Regions from separate parts of the Homo sapiens genome. Here region 1 is linked to region 2. Evidence: promoter capture Hi-C in human tissues and cell types (Jung and others, 2019). All regions are on one chromosome and are shown on one strand. Each heading gives the region's core, a stretch centred on a gene start or on the middle of the fragment in contact. The rest is flanking DNA. Distances are from core to core; before and after follow the strand shown. Region 1 overlaps TUBA4B (tubulin alpha 4b). Region 2 holds the start of PTPRN (protein tyrosine phosphatase receptor type N).

What was found. Contacts are between HindIII fragments. The study calls those that stand out against the background at their distance.
Region 1: a fragment that was not itself captured here is called in contact with the fragment with the promoter of PTPRN in region 2 in 2 of the 25 tissues and cell types used here (liver and mesenchymal stem cells).

What each region holds. Positions count from the first base shown.
Region 1 is chr2:219,261,671-219,264,572 of GRCh38, forward strand. All of the region lies in intron 1 of TUBA4B (tubulin alpha 4b), which reads left to right. Among named protein-coding and RNA genes, the nearest start is that of TUBA4A, 9.2 kb to the left of the region's middle. The HindIII fragment of the contact is 3,379 bases long and covers 1-2,902 here.
Region 2 is chr2:219,308,085-219,311,062 of GRCh38, forward strand. PTPRN (protein tyrosine phosphatase receptor type N) reads right to left here and starts at 1,317. Exons shown (of 23, transcript NM_002846.4): 1 at 1,134-1,317. The coding sequence starts at 1,248. The HindIII fragment of the contact is 13,898 bases long and covers 1-2,978 here.

The sequences.
Region 1 (2,902 bases), core at 259-2,758, 46 kb before region 2:
TTCCTAGATGCCTTCAGCAGCCTCTGAACCAGCTTCCTGCCTCTAGGCTTGAAACCCTAATGCAGTCTCCACACAGCAGCTGCAGTCATCTCTCTGAAACACAAGCTAGGCAATGACGCTTGTTTCAAACCCTCCTGTTACACTTATATAAAAGCCATTCTCCTTCCAAGGCCCCTCCACCTCTATGATCTCATCTTGTAGAGCTCTCTCCTTTCCTCACTCTGGGTTTTTGGACACACTGGGCTAGTTCCTACCTATGATTGTTTGCACTTATTATTCTGTCTGTCTGGAGAACTGGTTTCCAGATCTTGCCTCGCTGACTCCTCACCATTCAGCCCTCAGTTCAAGTGTCACCTTCTGGCCGGGTGTAGTGGCTCACGCCTGTAATCCCAGCACTTTGTGAGGCCGAGGCGGGCGGATCATGAGGTCAGGAGATCGAGACCATCCTGGTTAACATGGTGAAACCCCATCTCTACTAAAAATACAAAAAATTAGCCTGGCGTGGTGGTGGGCGCCTGTAGTCCCAGCAACTCGGGAGGCTGAAGCAGGAGAATGGCGTGAACCCAGGAGGCAGAGCTTGCAGTGAGCTGAGATCGTGCCACTGCACTCCATCCAGCCTGGGCGACAGAGCGAGACTCGAGACTCTGTCTCAAAAACAAAACAAAACAAAACAAAACAAATATCACCTTCTTATAGAGTGGCTTCTGTTCAGTCTAAAATAGCAGCCCCTGCATATCTTTCTGTTCCATTATCCAGCCTTGTTTTCTTCACATGCTTATTGCTATCTGGAATGTTCTTGTTTGTTTATTGTCTGTCTTCCCCATGAAAATGAAAGCTCCATTTTATTTCTTTTTGAGACAGGGTCTTACTGTGTCACCCAGGCTGGAGTGCAAGTGGCATGATCACGGCTCACTGCAACCTTGACCTCCTGCGCTCAAGTGAGCCTCCCTCCTCAGCCTCCCAAGTAGCTGGGGCCACAGGCATGTGCCACCACACCCAGCTAATTAAAAAAAAATTTTTTTTTTTGTGGAGGCAGAGTCGCATTATGTTGCCCAGGCTAGAATGTAAGCTTCTTAAGAGCATAAACTTGCCAGGCACAGTGGCTCACACATGTAATCCCAGAACTTTGGGAGGCCAAGGTGGGCAGATCACCTGAGGTCAGGAGTTCGAGACCAGCCTGACCAACATGATGAAACCCCGTCTCTACTAAAAATACAAAAATTAGCCAGGCATGGTGGCATGCGCCTGTAATCCCAGCTACCTGGGAGGCTGAGACAGGAGAATTGCTTGAACCCGGGAGGCGGAGGTCGCAGTGAGCCGAGATAGCACCACTGCACCCCAGCCTGGGCAACAAGAGCAAAACTCCATTCCCCACCCCCCAAAAAAGCATAAACTTTTGTGTTTATCACTGTATCCCTGGCACCTGAAATGGTGCTTGGCATACAGCAAGCACTCAATATTTGTTGAAGAAATTAAGAGTATTCATGGCCTCTTATGTTTTAATCTAGATGCATTAAAATGCTTTAAAAATCTCAGTCTTGGCCGGGCACAGTGCCTCACACCTATAATCCCAACACTTTGGGAGGCCAAGGCAGATGGATCATCTGAGGTCAGGAGTTTGAAACCAGCCTGGCGAACATGGTGAAACACTGTCTCTACTAAAAACACAAAAATTAGCGGGGTGTGTTGGTGCATGCCTGTAGTCCTAGGTACTCGGGAGGCTGAGGCAGGAGAATTGCCTGAACCCAGGAGGAGGAGGTTACAGTGAGCCAAGATCACAAAACTCAGTCTTTTCATTCTGCTTTACATAAGACAGCTGACTGCCATTAGGATAGTTTTCTTTTTGGAGTTGGTGATACCTAGGTTGACTCTGAGAGTCCAACTCCCAAGGCCAGTTGGGAGAAGTTTCAGTGCTACACAAGAGAGTTTTGAGCCCAGTGGGCCCTCTGGGCCCCATATCACTCCATCTGGACAATAATTCCTGAGGTCCATGGTTTCATGGGCCAACCCAGTAGAAGGCTGAGCTTTCTTATCTTTGATATGTTAAGTGGCTGGGTCTCTTCTTTGGGCCTCTTTGTTCCAGGTGGGAGACAGAAGAGTTCTAACCTTCAGTCTGTAGCCAAAGCCAGAGTTAACCAACTTGAGATCATTCCCTAGCTTACTGGGTTGACAGGGTCTCTGAAAAAGTCCCCTGTTTCAACTGCACTATGTAACACAGTGGCTGAAATTTCACATTAGCAACTACTTCCTGGATAGGGTTGCTAAATAAAATACTTTTATTTGCTAAATCTGGCAGACCTAGTCCTGGTTTTGGCTGCTATCTGGAAGAGGGACTGAACTGTACAACAGTCCCCCCTTACTTACAAAGATATGTTGTAGGGCCCCCAGCGGATGCCTGAAATGGCGGATAGTACTGAACCTTATGTACTGTTTTTTCCTATACATGCATACATATGACCAAGTTTAATTCATAAATTAGGCACAGTAAGAGGTTAAGAACAACAATAGGCCAGGTGCAGTGGCTCATGCCTGTAATCCCAGAACTTTGGGAAGTCAAGGCAGGCAGATCACTTGAGGTCAGGAGTTCGAGACCAGCTTGGCCAACATGGTGAAACACCATCTCTAATAAAAATACAAAAATTAGCCAGGCGTGGTGGCATGTGCCTGTAATCCAAGCTACTCAGGAGGCTGAGGTGGGAGAATTGCTTGAACCCAAGAGGCAGAGGTTGCAGTGAGCTGAGATCATGCCACTGCACTCCAGCCTGGGTGACAGAGTGAGGCCCTGTCTCAAAAAAAAAAAAAAAAAGAACAATAATGATATAGAGAAATAAAGCAATGATAGTAATATGCCAGCATCACTGCTCTTGAGCGGTGGGGCTGTTATGAGGTAGAATAAGGGTTA
Region 2 (2,978 bases), core at 67-2,566:
ATAGGGAAGAAACCTTCCAGGTGCAGGGAGAGAGATTCATAGAATTACTGCAGGAGAGGTTTTGGCCAAATTCTGAAAGAGGAATTTCCTTCCCAAATATGGAAAAGCATCCTATAATGGCCTGGAACTCAGAAGAGGTTCTAGCACACTTCCCCCGGTCGGGGGAAAGAGGGCATGGGTGGGGCTGGGGAGGGTGTCTCTTAGGCATCTCTCCTCGCGCTGTCCCGAGCCGCTGGCGCTGTCCGCGGTGCTGAAGCTCTGAGTCTGGCGCCGCCAAGGGCTGGCCTTGGAGGCGGTTACCAGAGAGGAAGGGGTCACAGAGCGAGGACTCTCCACTAGACCTGAGCCCTCTGTTGTATTCTGCCAACCCACAGCGTCACAGGAAGTACTCTGCCTCTCGGGCCTCCAAGCCCGGGTGGGGAAAGAGGGCGCCAGGCGGCGAGGCTGCGCCCCTTCCCCCACGCGCCACCCTCCCATCCCCCACCCCCTGTCCGTGAGTCAGCGCTGACTGTCTCTGTCCGCACAGATGTGAGTCAGCACCAGGCCTGGCTGTGGGGAGGGGGACAAGAGAGGACCCTCCCCTCTTCATCCTCTTCTGCCCCCTCCCCGTGCTGTCCCCCGTTACAGGAGATCAGATCGCTGCAATCAGCTTCTCTAGGCTTACGGAGAAACCCTGGCCTCTCTCTCTGCCCAGCTGGGACTCTATGTCTGCGGCCCAGGCTTCCACTGCCCAGAGATCACCGTTCCCTCATTCTCCCCGCCACCTCCCCTTCCCATTCCTCAGCGCCTGTCACCACCTCCCAGGCGCCTCGGAGCAAGTGGCTTCTCCTGTGGTCTCGCAGCCGGTCTCTAAGTCCCTCTGCCCACATGCACCCCGTGTCCTTCTCCCGAACCTGCAATTTTCCCCAGAGCCCAATTCTCTTAGGTCCCGCCCCCGTATTCCCAGCCCCACCTCCAGGCCTACGCCCCTTTCCTCCGAGACGCCCTCTCACCTTCCTCATCTCGCATGCCTCCCCCAACCCATATTCTCCCCGAGCTTCATGACATTTCACCCTCACCCCCACCGAGTTTCGCTCCAGGCCCCAAGCTGCTCCCCGCCCCCCACCACCCGCCAGCCCAAGTTTCCTCCTGACCGTGGGCACTAACGGCGCTGCAGCCCCCCGGGCGGCTGCTCAGCAGCAGGAGGCAGAGGAGCAGCCGGAGACCCCCGGATCCCCCGAGACCCCCAGGCCGCCGCGGGCGCCGCATCTTTCCGAGCTCCGGGCGCTCGCTCCCGGGCCGGAGCCGCAGCGACGCTGGCGGGAGCCTGCCAGAGGGGCTGAGGCGGGGCTTGCCGCTCCCCACCTCCCTACGAGGCGGGGTCTACATGCCCCTCTCGCTGCAACGCGGCCAACCGCAGGCGGGTGCTGACGACACCTCCACCCCCGGCTCGTAAGCTAATTTGCGTCACATATGGCGTAAGAGCCCTGTCGGAGCGGGGGACCTACCTAGCCCATCCCTCCTCCATCAAATAGTAGGCGCCTCGCTAGAATTCCCACTTGGCCCCATCCCTGTAGCCCTCTTCTAGGATCACCTCTGTCTCCCCGCCCCAGGGTGGGTGAAAAGGGTTAAGTTAAGTGGGGGGCCAGGAAAGATAGGTGGGTCCAGAACGATAAACCCGAAGACAAGAAGCAGAAAAGTGGGTAGAATAAGTACTCTTACTCATTGTCATTGAAGATACTGTTCTCTTCCTTAAGAAAAAATGGTTAGGCATGCCTAGATTCCAGTTCTAGCAGGGCATCTACTAAGGGTATGACCTTGGGCACCTTGTTTAACTTGTCTGCGTCCAAGTTTCCTGATCTGCAAAGTGGAGGTGTTAATAGTTACTACCCGCCTCACACAGTGATTGTGAAGATTTTGTTCGTTACACTAATATGGATCACTTAGAAGGATGACTGGACTGGTGCATACTACATGCTCCATACATATTAGCTGTCATCATTAGCTTTTATTTATTTTTTATTGAGATGGAGTCTTGCTCTGTTGGCCAGGCTGGATACTGGCGTGATCTTGGCTCACTGCAATGTCCACCTTCTGGGTTCAAGCCATTCTCCTGCCTCAGCCTCCCTAGTAGCTGGAATTACAGGCGCACAGCACCTTGCCCGGCTAATTTTTGCATTTTTATTGGAGATGGGATTTCACCTTGTTGGCCAGGATGGTCTTGAACTCTTGACCTCAGGTGATCCAACGGCCTTCGCCTCCCAAAATGCTGGGATTACAGGTGTGAGCTACCGGGCCTGGCCTCATCATTAGCTTTGACTCTCCTTTCTCTCCGTCTGTGCCACCTCGAGGCTATCAATCATTTTATGGTTTCTCCCTGCAAAATACATCTCCCATCAGTCCACTTCTGTCCATCCTCACTACCTGAACTGAAACACTGTGCTCTTTCACCACGACCACTGCAGCAATCAGCTAGTAACTGCTCTTTTGCTTCCACTCTAGTCATCCAATAAGTAGGGGAGTGAGCTTCTTAAGTTCAGATTTGATCTCCTTCCTCTCTTGCTTTCCAGTAAAATAAAATAAAATTTAAAAAGGACAGAAATGCATAATGAATACTTACATACTCATCATCCATACTTAATGGTTATTGATGTTTTACAATATTTGCTTCTTTTTAGTATTTAAACATGAATGATAGACATCATGACATTTCTCTTCTAAATATTTCATTATGCATCTCCAAGAAATAAGGACATTTTCCTGCATAACCTAAGTGCTGTTATGACACCTAAAAAAATTTACAATAATTCCTTAATATAATTTTTTAAATTTTTTTTTTTATTTTTTTGAGAAGGAGTCTTGCGCTCTTTTGCCCAGGCCAGACTGCAGTGGCACTATCTTGGCTCACTGCAAGCTCCCCCTCCCAGGTTCACGCCATTCTCCTGCCTCAGCCTCCTGAGTAGCTGGGATTACAGGTGCCTGCCACTGCACCCGGCTAA